Regions from separate parts of the Homo sapiens genome. Here all the other regions are linked to region 1. The links are contacts of gene promoters, found by promoter capture Hi-C in human tissues and cell types (Jung and others, 2019). All regions are on one chromosome and are shown on one strand. Each heading gives the region's core, a stretch centred on a gene start or on the middle of the fragment in contact. The rest is flanking DNA. Distances are from core to core; before and after follow the strand shown. Region 1 holds the start of CYP2C18 (cytochrome P450 family 2 subfamily C member 18). Region 2 overlaps CYP2C18 (cytochrome P450 family 2 subfamily C member 18). Region 3 has its middle 33 kb from the start of CYP2C18.

Region 1 (4,874 bases), core at 965-3,464:
AATTTTAATCTCATTCTTCACAGAAATAGAAAAAAAATCTTAAAATTTGTATGGAACCACAAAAGACCCCAAATAACTAAAGCAAATTAATCAAAAAGAATAAAGCTGGAGGCATCACACCACTGAACTGCAAAATATGTTACAAAGCTATAGTAAGCAAAACTGCATAGCATTAGCATAAAAATAGACACACTGATTAAAGGAAAAGCGTAGAGAACCCTGAAATAAGCCCACACATCTATAATCAATTGATTTTTGACAAAGGTGCCAAGAACATACAATGGGGAAAGCACTCTTCAGCAAAAGGTGTTGGGAAAACTGGATATTCATATGCAAAGAATAAAAGAGAATCCTAATCTCACCCTTATACAAGAATTAACTCAAAATGAATTAAAGCCTTAAGCATAAGACCTGAAACTAAAAACTACTGAAAGAAACCATATAGAAAAACTCCATGACATTGGTCTAGGCAATGATTTCTTGGATATGATCCTAAAAGTACAGGCCATGAAAGCAAAACTAGACAAATGAGATTCTGACCACCCAAAATACTTAGAAACTCAAATTACTCAATAACAAATAAATAATTCTATTTAAAACGAGCAAAGGGGTCAAGTGCAATGGCTCATGTCTGTAATTCCAGCACTTTGAGAGACAAAGGTGGGTGGATTGCTTGAGCCCAAGAGTTCAAGACCAGCCTGGACAACATAATGAGACCACATCTCTACAAAGCATTAAAAAATTATCCAGGCATGGTGGCATACACCTGTAGCCCCAGCTACTTGGGGGTCTAAGGTAGAAGGATGGCTTGAGCCCAGGAGCTCAAGGCTGCAGGGACCATGATCCCATCACTACACTCCATCCTACAACAGAGCAAAACCCTGTCTCTATTAATTAATTAATTAATTAATTAATTAAATGGGCAAAGGATTTGAGTAGACATTTTTCAAAAAAAGACATACAAATGGCCAAGATATATTTTTTAAATACTCAACAAATTTAATCATCAGAGAAATGCAAATTAAAACCACAATGAGATAACTCATCACAACTCATAGATAAGATATTATTATTATCAAAAAGATAAAAAGATAACAAGTGTTGACAAAGATGTGGAATAAAGTGAACCTTGGGTATGTAAATTAGCATTGTGATTTGAGAAAACAGTATGGATGTTCCTAAAAAAAACAAAAATAGAACTATCAGATGATCCAGCAATCCCACTACCAGTATATACCCAAAGGAATTGAAGTCAGTATGTGGAAGACATGTCTGTACTTCCATGTTTATTGCAGTGCTATTGACAATAGCCAAGATATGGAAACAACCTAAGTGTTCATCAATAAATTAATGGATTTTGTATGTGACATATATGTACAATGAAATGCTATTCAGCCTTTTAAAGAGGAAAAAATATTCTTATTTATGACGGCATGGATGAATCTACAGAACATCATATTAATTAAATAAGCCAGGCAGAGAGAGGCAAATATCATATATGATCTCACTTCTATGTGGAATCTTAAAAAGTTAAACTCAGAGAAGTAGAGATTAGAATGGTGGCTACCAGAGGCTGGCAGGTGGAGATGGGCCAAATAAGGGGATACGTTGGTCAACAGGTACAGAGTTACACTTAGATAGGAGGAATAAGCTCGGGTGTTCTATTGGACAGCAAGGTGACTATAATTAATATTAATGTACTGTATATTTCAAAACAGCTAAAAAAGAGGATTTTAAATGTTCTCACTACAAAGAAATGACAAATATTTGAGATGATGGATATGCTAATTACCCTGATATGATCAATTCACAATCTATACATGTATCAAAATGTAATATTGTACCCCATTAATATATACAATTATCATTTATCACTTTAAAATGAAATAAAACTTTAAGAATTGTGAGGTTAAATACACCTTGTACATTACTGGAGGAACATAAAGCATACTTACATTGGTTAAGGATTTGCTCATGTCCTTAACATCTAACTGCAGGATATTTCCAATAATCGGGAGAGGAGTGGGGCCAGACGGGAGCCTCCCTCTTCCAGAGCTCTGCCTCCAGAGTGAAAGGAGAAACAAACAGGAGAGACAGAGCACCAGAGCCACAGCTGGATCCATTGAAGGCTTCTCTTCTTAGTAAGACAACTGCGGGCTTTCACTTCAAGGCTTTTATAACACTCCCTACTAATCCACCTGTGATTCTGACTCTGACTGTGACTAGTCAGCAAAAAGCACTTTAATCTCTCTTTTGAATGAACATTGGCTCACTGAAGAAGATAAAAATAAGGTGTTCTTTTTTCTTGTTCTTTCCGGTGCCCCACCCTGGAGATTCTGGTTTAACTAGTCTGAAGCAGAGCCCAGGATTTTGTTGTTGTTGTTGTTGTTTTTCCTTGAGATGGAGTTTCGCTCTTGTTGCCCAGGCTGGAGTGCAATGGCAAGATCTCAACTCACTGCAGCCTCCACTTCCTGGATTCGAACGATTCTGCCTCAGCTTCTGGCGTGGCTGGGATTACAGGAATGCACAACTACGCCCAGGTGATTTTGTATTTTTAGCAGAGACAGGGTTTCACCATGTTGGCCAGGCTGGTCTCCCTAAGTGCTGGGATTACAGGCATGAGCCACCGTGCCTGGCTAGGCCTAGGTTTTTTCAAACAGCCCAGGTGGTTCCACTGTGCAGCCAAAATTGAGAAACAATGAAATAAATTATTTCATCAAAAAATTATTCAAAATTTTGGATTTTTAGATTGATGAGCAGTTGGAAATATGACTTTGAGGGCAATCTGTGTATTATATTCCTTGTACATAAAATAATGTTTATCCTATTGAGAGGAGTTAGCCAGCTTGCATTAGGCAGGCAGTAAGGGAAGGGTCCCCAGAGAACCTCCAACCCTTCCAGGTCATTGCCCAATCCACAAAAACCCCAAGTACTTACACTAGATGTTTTGTGCAGATAAGGGAACTTGCACAGGGAGCTTGCCTAAATATGCCCACAGTGAAAAATTCCTACCTTTAACACATGCGCAGGAAGGGAAATAAATCAATATGGAGTGGCTTAGACTAAGAGCCCACACGCGCAATGGAAGGAAGGGGTGGAAACACCAGGAATTCACGCCTTATGCAAATAAGTATCCCAGCCTCATCAGCTTTTCTATAAAAGTCCTGGTATTCAACTGTGAAGTGGCAATCTGCAACCTGCTTTCAGGGCCTCTCTCTTTGCTGAGAGTTTTCCTTTCACTTAATAAATTCTACTCCACTCACTCTCCAGTGTCTGTGTGCCTAATTCTTCCTGCATAAGACAACTCGGACCTAGCTGAGCTAAGGATCTGCAAGACTGCAACACTATAATGCTTTCTCAAACACTAGATCATTTTCCTTGAAAATGAGATCCTTTTGAAATATTTTAATGTAGTACTAACATTACAGCTGCCTAAACATAAAGCAGCTAACAAACTCATTCATCTTAAATGGCTAAACCGGTTATCAATTAACTAAGTAAACATACACACCTTTTTCCATTAAACCCCGTGAAAAACACTGGACGGCTGAGAATATTATTTCATATTTTCCAAATGGGGAAAGGGAGACTCTAGGAGAACAGATGACCTGTCCAGTGTCCCACAGCTCATAAATGGCAGGCTGGGATTTGAACTGAGATCTTCTGACGCCCGCTGTGGTATATTCTCACTTACACCAGAGCTGCCTTGAGAACAGTTTTAGCAAAATAAAATAAATCCTAAAAACATTTCTCACTCTGAATCTACACCACACTGTTCACAAAATAACAGGGTTGTACATTCTCAAGAGAAGAAATAAAAGCTAGGGTTTCTCCCCTCTCTGTCACTGAAGAGCTGAAACCTACTCAGTATAACTGAGGAAAGAGCCAATCTCAGAGAATTAAGTGGGTAAGATCTCAGAAACTATGGCTTCTCCAGCTCCCACTTGCCTCCAGACACTGCTGTTTCTATTGCTTTTTTGGTCTGTGTCAGAAATAATGGAATGAAATATTGCACAGCAAGGAAGGGGAATTATAGGCAGAACAACAGGCATGTGCTTCAGTGGTGAATGGGAGGTAGGGAAATCATTAAACAGACCCATGGCACAGAACAAACACAGTTGTGCAGACCTGAACTGGAGATGACATTTAGCGCTCATGAGGCTCTATATATCACTAAAATGATACATACATTTCTAGATCACTAATGGCAATGCTTGTACAAAGGCATATTCTGTAAAGATGTCATTGTGGTATTCTAAATGACTAGTACAGTTATTTGTTTATTTCCATTGTATATATTTAAGGTATACAACATTGGTAGACATATAAACAGTGGAATCATTACTATGGTTAAACAAATTTACATATTAATCAATTCTATAATTAACTTCTTTTTTGTGGTATAAGCACCTAAAATCTACTCTTTTAGCAAATTTTCAGTATAGTATATTAACTATAGTCCTCTTGCTGTTTATTAGATCTTTAGACTTATTCATCCTATCTAACCACAAATTTGGCTCTTTGACACACTTTTTTCCATTTCCTCTGGCTCCCACTTTTGGTAACCACCATTCTACTCTCTGTTTCTATGTATTTGACTTTTTAAAGATTCTTCATATAAGTGAAATCATGCAATCTTTTTTCCTCTGTATCTAGCTCATATCACTTAGCATAATATCCTTCAGGTTCATTCCATGTCATTGCAAATGGCAGTATCTCCTTTTAAAGTTTAAAAAATATTTCATTGTGTATATAAATATAAAACACAATTTCTTCATCCATTTATTTGTGAATGAACACTTAGATTGTTTCTACATCCTGGCTATTGGAAATAATACTGGATTAGTGCAGTTATTTCTAACTGCAGTAAGGAA
Region 2 (4,874 bases), core at 943-3,442, 41 kb before region 1:
GCACTATTCACAATAGCAAAGACTTGGAACCAACCCAAATGTCCATCAATGATAGACTAGATTAAGAAAATATGACACATATACACCATGGAATACTATGCAACCATAAAAAATGATGACTTCATGTCCTTTGCAGGGACATTGATGAAGCTGGAAACCATCATTCTCAGCAAACTATCACAAGATCAGAAAACCAAACACCGCATGTTCTCACTTATAAGTGGGAGTTGAACAATAAGGACACAGGGAGGGTAACATCACACACCAGGGCCTGTGGGGGATGTTGGGGCTAGGGGAGGGATAACATTAGGAGAAATACCTAATGTAGGTGACAGGTTGATGGGTGCAGCGAACCACCATGGCACGTGTATACCTATGTAACAAAACTGCACATTCTGCACATGTATCCCAGAACTTAAAGTATAATAAAAAAAAAATTGAAAAAAAATTTTTTTTGACTGTGTTGATATCTAATTCTGAATGAAGGTAGAAGGTGTTGCATAATTCTGTCTGCCTAGCATGGGAGGGATGAACCCTTTCTGGAAGAAGATGAACCTCATCTGACATTCTGCATTTTTTCATACATCATAACTGGCACTTAACCAAAATTTATGAGTCACTCCAAAGACAGAACTAAGTGAGCACAAAAAGAATAGAGAAGGGAGAAAAGATTATAAAAACAACCACAATACAGAACATTATCTTCCTTATTTTATGAAGCCAACATTTCCTCAATATCAGAAATCTGACAAGAAAATTTTGAGGAAGAAAAATTGCAAACCAATGTCTCTTGTAAATATAAGTTCAAACATCCTGAAAATCATAGCAAATAAAACCCAGCTGTGTATGTCTCTGTGTGCACATTTGTGTGTATTTTAACTAATATATATATTATATCTATAGACAGGACAAAATATATGGCCATATCGATTGATGCAGAGACTCCATTTGATCAAATTGTATACACATTCAAGACCAAAAAAAGTCATCAAAAGTAGAAGGCAACCTTCTCTAATCTGATTTTTTACTTATGAAAATATACATAAAACATCATTCTCACTGGTGAGATGTTAAATCTCCACCCATCCTGAACATCATATATGAAACAAGGATGCCCACCATCATGATTTATTCAACGCTGTCCTGGAAATCCTAACCAGTGAAATAAAACAATAAAGAGAAAACTGAGTTATAAGAATTGAAAAATAAGAAATAAAATAAATATTAAAAGAGAACACAGAATACATAGAAATTACAAATAAATTTACAAACAAAAAATTAGCAATGCCAAGTAAATTTGCTTGATGTAAGGTCATCAAAATAATAAAGTCAATTATATTTCCATGTACCAGAAACAAAGAAATGGAAAAGGCATTTTTTTTAAAGTATATTATTTAAAAGCCAGGTGCAGTGGCACACATCTCTAATCCCAGCTACTCAGGAGGAAGAGGTGGAGGATTGCTTGAGCCCAGAAGATCAATCTGTGCAACATAGCAAGACTCTGTTTTGAAAATATATTTTTAATATTATATATATTTATTTCATATTATATATATTTTATATTATATATTAAATACACAACTTACAATTACATAGAAATATCATTTCAGAAAAAAAACGTAATACATGAGAAAGCCACTGAACTGAAGACAAAACATTACTGACACAATAGAAGAAAGCCCAAATAAATAAAGAGCATAATCATATCCATGAATTGAAAGATTCAACCTGTCAGGACATCAATTATTTCTAAATTGATCTAAAGATTTAATGTCATCATGATAAAAATCCCAGCACAGTGTTTTGGGAAATTGACAAAATGATACTTTCAACACTTACTTGGAAATGTAAACAACCTGAGAATAGCCACAAAAAAAAAATACTAAAGAAGCAGAACAAATTTGGAAGACATACACTGCTAGATACTGAGACCTGTTATAAACCTTCATAGGCCCAAACTGGAATGGAAACAGCAGAGTCCAGAAAGCTGCCCCACGTATGAATTTTACACTTCTCTCATCATGTGTTGTTAGAGGATTGGGACTATACTATGAATTTGGGGACTTGAAGAGCATGGAGATGTAGTGTAGGAGAAACAAGCTTACCTTGGGGATGAGGTAGTTTTTGAATTTAACATCACAGGTCACTGCATGGGGCAGGTTGGTGGGGAGGAGGTCAATGTATCTCTGGATCTCGTGCACCACAGCATCTGTGTAGGGCATGTGACTCCTGTCCTGCATACAGGGGCTCCGGTTTCTGCCAACTACACATTCAATCTCTTCCTGGACTTTAGCTGATAAGACACAAGTAAGAAATGATGGAAAAGGAGGAAAATGGCACATTTGTTGTAGCAATTCAGGTTACAAGAAGCATAAGGAAGGGGTCCCAACATCATTATAAACTTATAGGACTGAAAGTACACCTAGACTTAGGGAAGAAATTACTACATTATAGATACATCCAACTCTCCTACAAGCTAAGTATTAAGATAAATCTGTAACCACCTACATATTAGCATACAAGATAATCAGTACAAATATAAATGATAAAATACTTCAAAATATAAATATTTAGTACATTATAAACTCAAGAAATTACTGTTCTTGAAGAAAGAAAAAAATCAAATTAATGTTGTATCAGAATAACATATAATGTTTTAAAACTTTAATTCTACTAACAGATCTATATGTATGGATGGATTTGTGTATTGTGTGCATATGTTTATTTGAAACTTGAAATGATATTCTCTCTCATCCTCACACTCCACAAAGGTGACTATGTTGAAACATTCTAGAAGTTTCTTCTGAAGTTTATATTCATATTTCTAAATACTGACTCTCTTTTTATTTTTTAATTTATCTTTGAAAATTTCTAAAACCTCATGGTAAGAAAGATGAGGACTTATATCTCCATCATCACCCCATAACAAATAGACACACACCCACAAACAGAAACATGCACACACATTCACACTTCCCCCACTCTAGTTTCCCCAATGTATTTATATCACATTTTTATTATATTAATACTCATGTTCACACCATTATTATTTCATAAACATTGACCACAAGTGGGACAGCTGTAATTATGTCTCTTTTTTGTATATTCTTGGACTTGTGTGTCCATTTCAATTCTAATTTTCATATGCCAATTTAGAATTACTGCAAATGCTCAGAAATGTTTCAAACTCTTACTAATAATTTTCTAAACACTAAAAATAATCAAATAATCAATCAACTTTTCTTTGCCCTTAATGTCTTCCCTCACACCTCCATGATCCACCTGGTCCATTCTAAAGCATTTGTTTTCTAGACCTGGTATCCAGCAGCCTCCCTGACACTTCCATCCTCCTACATGAGATCTCCTGATCCCTGCAGCCCATGATTTCCCCTGAATTGGTTTCAGACATTTGGATGGAAAATATTCTCTAGTATCTTTCTAAGAAAATAAACACAAAGGGCAAAAATTTTTTGCCAAATGCAGATCTGAAAATATTCTTTATCTACAAATACACAAGATGACAGCTGCTCTTGAGAATTCTAATGCCATTCTGATTCCTGATCCTTCACAGGTGACCTAATTTATCTCTGAATGTTTTTATGACTTTCCCTTTAACTCTGATGTTCTAAAATTCCCCATGGTCTGGTGTCTTGGATGAATATTTTCCATTTCATTCACTTTGCTGGACATTTGGTAAGAATTTTCTATCTAAATGGTGAAAAATGGAGGTCTTTCCACTGGTGCTACTTGTCCTCTGGAGTTTACACCTGGCTGCTGTATTTTAGGAACAAGATAGAAAAAGGCGCTAAAGGCCTTAGAATTCAAGTGGACTCTTACTTAACCCCTCACTCTTTCCCAGTCTCTGTCTGTTGTCCATGAGTGAGCCTCTTAGGTTCAGTTTCTCTAGAGAGTGAACCTCCCTTTTCTGTGGAGAAAAACAATTAGTTGACAAATGGAGTTGTGGAGGGAAACTAGGCAGGGAGAATTTTCTGTTTTCTGCCTCATTCTCCCTCTATGTTCTTTGGGTCTTGGTTCTTTTGAATACTCAGCCTTATGGGGACTATAGCAACAGAAATTCTTATGACCCTTAGGTTGCAACTTCAATCTCTCTGCCAAATTGGTTATCATCCTTCTATCTGCTCTCTGTGTCTGAGAAGTTTGTTAAAGACTTGATGGTTATACTCCAACTTTAACAGGAGTAATTCTCATTTGTAATATGTTTATCATCACTTCAGTGTGATTCTGACCCCAGAAAAACAAGTGTGTGGCTAATATGTTATGCAGAGCCAGAATCTGCTCATAGATAAATATAAAAGTTGAAGAAAAAAAAAAGTTGCTTGTAAAAGATAAAACTATTGACCCTAAGAAAAAATATTGACAAGTACCATTTTTCTAGATGCAGATTTTGATAATCATAAAATTCCTCAGGCACATTTTCTGCTTAAATATCATACACCTTTATTATACACCTAAGTGTTTAAAATACTTCCCAGACTATACAGATTTTCTCAGGCTATCTCATGACATTTCTAGAATATCCACTATACACTTCAATAAATAGTATTTCCCAAAGAATCAAAAATAGAACTACCCTTTGATCCAGCAATCCCACTACTGGGTATCTATCCAAAATAAAAGAAATCATTTTATCGAAAAGACATCTGCATTCATATGTTTACTGCAGCACTATTCACCAAGGCAAATTCATAAAATCAACCCAAGCATCCATCAACAGATGAATGGATTAAAATTGTTATGTGTGGGATTTAAAAATCTGCATCTAGTATTCTATGGTGTGTCACACACACACACACACCATGCACTACTACTCAGCCATGTAAAAGAACGAAATCGTGTCTTTTGTGGCAACATGG
Region 3 (4,874 bases), core at 669-3,168, 33 kb after region 1:
AAGGATGGGAGAAAGATCAATAGCATAAATTGTTGATAGTGAAGTGGGGCCCTTCCTCAAGAAGACCCAGGCTTCCCTTCATTCAAGGGGTTCTGGGTCTGTAAACTGGCTCAAGTCTGGAAGTTGATTGAGGCGCCATGATTCTCTGTTTCATAATTCAAATTAGTCTTTTGTCCATTTGACCTGGAAGTTTTCTGCTTATATAAATTAAGCAGGAATGGAGAAGGCTTCCTATCAATTTCACATCTAGGAACCATGATTAATTAGCCAGTGCCAGAGTGCTACATGAGTCAGATTATTCTGATTGCTGTTTTGCTTCTGCTGTCCATTACAGTAACTACACCCACCTTGCCTTTGATGCTCGAGTGCCACAACTTAGCCCCTGCCACCTCAGAATCCAATTATTCCCATTGTATTTAACTTTTGTAGTTGAGTGACTGTGATTCTCACTGTTAGATATGACATACAGAGAATAGCAATTACAGGGCTCTTCAAAGAGGCAGGTGCTGCCCTCACAAATCTATTTCACAAAGCACTGGTCAAGGGTATATTTTCTGCACCCTCCCAGCTGGGATGAGTATGTCTAAAGTAACTAATCCACTCCACCATCCCAATCTCCCTAAGCCTGTGGATCCCTTCCTTTACATTAAAGCAAGGAAGATCAGGCATGTCCAGCTTGCTCACAATGGGCCATCTTTTAATCCATGTTTCAGCTAACCAAGCAAGTAAACTATTAAAACCTTTTTTAACTTCCTGAGCTGCAACATTAAAATCAGAATCTCTATTTAGTGGGCCCAAATCAATAAATTCAGCCTGATCCAACTCTATGTTTCTTTCACCATTATCCTACACCCTTAATATCCATTCCCATGACTGTTCTCCAGATTTCTGCTTATATAAATTTGAAAAGTCAAGCAGTTCTTTTCTATTGTAACACACCTCCTCATGGGCCACACTCTGAACCTGACTTCTAGGGGCCCACCAGAACTTTAGTCTAGTTATAGGTCTTGAAGCAAACAGGAGTGTTGGGGGTGGCTACTGAGGAGAATCAACATTATCTTGCCTCAGACAGCACAGGGTTTATCTACTCAGACAAAGGAGGAAAGGCTGATGGCAGCATGGGTCACAGAGCGGATGTTGCCACTACTGGGAACAGAAGCTGTTTCTTCTGGCAAAAAAGACTTATCAGAGTTTACAAGCTTAGTGTCCCCAGCTTCATCAGGGTCCTCCCACACATCCCCATTCCAAATTGCAGGGTCCCATTCTTTTCCAATCAATGCCCTCACTTTAACAGTAAACCCCTGGCAAGGCTGTTCATTCACCTTTCATTGCAGGTTAGCCACTTGTATAAGAGCTTGTGTCTTTTTTCCCACAATTTCAGCTCTTTCTCTACAGGAGATAAGATTCCCACTCAGGGCAATCTTAGCAGATTTGAGGCTCAGTATCCACTTCTGAAGCTGGGAGTTAGAATCCCTGAGTTCATCATTTTGTTTCATCACTTTATCCAGTGAACTTAGGAGCAACCAACCAACTTCATTATCTTCCTTGGTTCTCCACATGTAGTCAAAAGTATTATGTATAGAGTCACTAAACTCCTTGCATCTCACAAGCAGTGAATCAGGACTGTCAAATGCATCTATTTTGCATAACCCTCTAAACAGTTCACACCAAGGACTATCGGTGTTCTCCATACTATTAGAAGTAGAGTCGTTAGCATTTTTGGGTCAAATCATATTAGCAGTCAACTCCACAAACCCCAAAACCAATGAAAGAACTCCATGCTTAATATTCTGTTCATCTAGAACCACTCCTGGTACCAAAATCTGTATCAGTCAGGGCTCTCTAGAGGGACAGAACTAATATATATATAAATGGAGTTTATTAAGTAGTATTAACACACACGATCACAAGGTCCCACAATAGGCCATCTGCAAACTGAGGAGCAAGGAAGCCAGTCCAAGTCTCAAAGCTGAAAAACATGGAGTTCAATGTTCGAGGGCAGGAGGCATCCAGCACAGGAGAAAGATGTAGGCTAGGAGGCTAAGCCTTTTCACATTTTTTTTCCTGCTTTACATTCTGGCCTCACTGAGAGCTTATTAGATGGTGCCCACCCGGATTAAGGGTGGGTCTGCCTTTCCCAGCCCACTGACCCAAATGTTAATCTCCTTTGGCAACACCCTCATAGACATACCTAGGATCAATATTTTGCATCCTTCAATACGGTCAAGATTGGATTGTGTCTGAGTATCAGAATAGGGAGTGTCAACTTGATTGGATTGTGATTAACCATCACACCATCTGACAAAGGTCTGATATCCAGAGCCTACATGGAACTCAAACAAAATTACAAGAAAAAAAAAAACCCATTAAAAAGTCGGCAAAAGACATGAACAGACACTTCTCAAATGAAGACATTCATGAGGCCAACAAATATATGAAAAAAAGTCCAACATTCCTGATTATTAGAGAAACACAAATCAAAACCACAATGAGACACCATCTCACTCCAGTCAGAATGGTGATTATTAAAAAGTCAAGAAACAACAATTGCTGGCAAGATTGTGGAGAAAAGGAATGCTTTTATACTGTTGGTGGAAGTATAAGTTAGTTCAACCACTGTGGAAGACAGTGTGGTGATTCCTCAAAGACCTAGTGCCAGAAATACCATTTGACCCAGCAATCCCAGTACTGAGTATTTACCCAAAGGAACATAAATCATTCTATTATAAAAATACATGCACATGTATGTTCATTGCATCACTATTCACAATAGCAAAGATATGGAATCAACCCAAATGCCCATCAATGATAGGCTGGATAAGGAAAATGTGGCACAAATACACCATGGAATACTATGCAACCATAAAAAGGAATGAGATCATGTCCTTTGCAGGGACATGGATGGAGCTGGAAGCCGTTATCCTCAGCAAACTAATGCAAGAACAGAAAACCAAACACCACATTTCTCACTTATAAATGGAAGCTGAACAATGAGAACACATGAACACATTGCAGGGGAACAACACACAGTGAGGCCTGTTGGGAGGGGGCACAAGGAGGAGGGAGAGCATCTGGAAGAATAGCTAGTGGGTACTTAACAACAGGGTGATGGGTTGATCTGTGCTGCAAATAACCACAGCACACATTTACCTGTGTAACAAACTTAATCATTACGGAAATACAATTAAAATTACAATGAGATACTTCACACCTGTCATAATAGTTTTTATCAAAAAGATAAGAGATAACAAGTATTGGGGAGGATATAGAGGAAAGGAACCCTGTACACTGTTAGTAGGAATGTAAATTAGTATAGCCATTACGGAAAACAGTATGGAGCTTCCTCAAAAAACTAAAAACAGAATTACCATATGATCCAGCAGTCTGGGTATCCACTTCTGGGTATTTCTCCAAAAGAGCTGAAATCAATATGCCGAAGAGACAACTGCACCCAGTGTTCTTTACTAGCACTATTCACAATAGCCAAGTTATGGACTCATTCTAAGTGTCCATGTACAGATAGATTTTTTTGAGACAGGGTCTTGCTCTGTTACCCAGGCTGAAGTGCAGTGACACCATCATAGCTCACTGCAGCATTGACCTGCCTGGCTCAAGCAATCCTTCAGTCTTAGCCTCCCAAGTAGCTGGGACTACAGGTTGGGCCACCATGCCTGGCTTAGATTTTGTTAGTGTGGTATATACACACAATGCAATGCGATACTATTCAAACTTTAAAAAAGAAGGGAATTCTGTCATTTGTGACAACATGGATAGAATTGGAGAACATCATGCTAACTGAAATAAGTCAGGCACAGAAAGATAAATACTGAATGAACTCACTCATATGTGGAATCTAAAATGATTGAACTCGTAGAGACAGTAGAATGGTGGTTACAGAGGCTGGGGGATGGGAGGAATGGGGAGATAATAGTCAAAGGATACAAAATCTCAGACGGGAGGAATATCTTTTTTCATTTTTTGAGTTCTATTGCACAGCATAGTGAATAGTTCATAATAGAGTATCATACATTTCAAAATTGCTAAGAGAGTACATTTCAAGTGTTTATCATTAAAAATGCTAAGGATTTGAGGTGATGGGTATGTTAACCAGCTTCATTTAATTATTCTACATTGTTAATAAACTATAATTTCACTTTGTACCCCATAAATTTATACAATTGTAAATTGTCAACTTACAGTTAAAAGGTACATTTTCCTGTGCTAAATTTTATCTCAATAAAAAAGAAAGTAGGTGCTAGGTGGGCCAGCTCGGGCCAAGGTGGGGGTCTGACCCAGCAGGGCCTCACACCAGCGAGGTCGCTGGCGCCCCACACGTCTGCAGGGCCTGGCAGAGGAGAAGCCACAAGACCACAAGATATTGGGGTGGACCCCTAGCCTGCGACCAAGGCTTAGAGAAGCAGCAAGTACCTGGCAGGACTGTGTATGAGCCGCCTCCACTCCTAGTGATCGCAGATTTGGGGTGCTAAAGACCTGGAGTCATGGTGTTCCTGACCCCTCTAGTGGACTCTCAAGGAGGTCTGCTGATTATGCAATGGTAGCAGAGTTGCAAGGAAACAGGTTTTGAACCAATGAAGCTGTATTTACTTAAAAAGACGGACCACCCATCATGTGACCTACAGCATTCGTGGACAGATTTACATTGGGTTCATTGTGCCATCAGGCATGCAGTTTCAGCCAAGTTTCCCTAAGCTCTCAGAGGGTTGCTTTAACTTTTGAATCTGAGTTGCAAAGTTCAATAAATAATGGCCCTATGGATAAGCACAAAGTCAAGAGACAGTGATTGAACAGAATTTGTGAAGGGTGAAGGTATCCGCTTTCAGACCGTGAACAGGCCCTTTGCACCCCAGCACCCC

What was found. Contacts are between HindIII fragments. The study calls those that stand out against the background at their distance.
Region 2: a contact is called between a fragment that was not itself captured here and the fragment with the promoter of CYP2C18 in region 1, in 3 of the 25 tissues and cell types used here (adrenal gland, liver and neural progenitor cells).
Region 3: a contact is called between a fragment that was not itself captured here and the fragment with the promoter of CYP2C18 in region 1, in 2 of the 25 tissues and cell types used here (liver and spleen).

What each region holds. Positions count from the first base shown.
Region 1 is chr10:94,681,069-94,685,942 of GRCh38, reverse strand. It overlaps CYP2C18 (cytochrome P450 family 2 subfamily C member 18), which reads right to left and starts at 2,214. Exons shown (of 9, transcript NM_000772.3): 1 at 1,956-2,214. The coding sequence starts at 2,123. The HindIII fragment of the contact is 11,159 bases long and covers 1-4,874 here.
Region 2 is chr10:94,721,765-94,726,638 of GRCh38, reverse strand. It overlaps CYP2C18 (cytochrome P450 family 2 subfamily C member 18), which reads right to left. Exons shown (of 9, transcript NM_000772.3): 7 at 2,106-2,293. Among named protein-coding and RNA genes, the nearest start is that of CYP2C19, 38 kb to the left of the region's middle. The HindIII fragment of the contact is 3,726 bases long and covers 330-4,055 here.
Region 3 is chr10:94,647,886-94,652,759 of GRCh38, reverse strand. It overlaps the pseudogene CTBP2P2. Among named protein-coding and RNA genes, the nearest start is that of CYP2C18, 33 kb to the left of the region's middle. The HindIII fragment of the contact is 3,187 bases long and covers 325-3,511 here.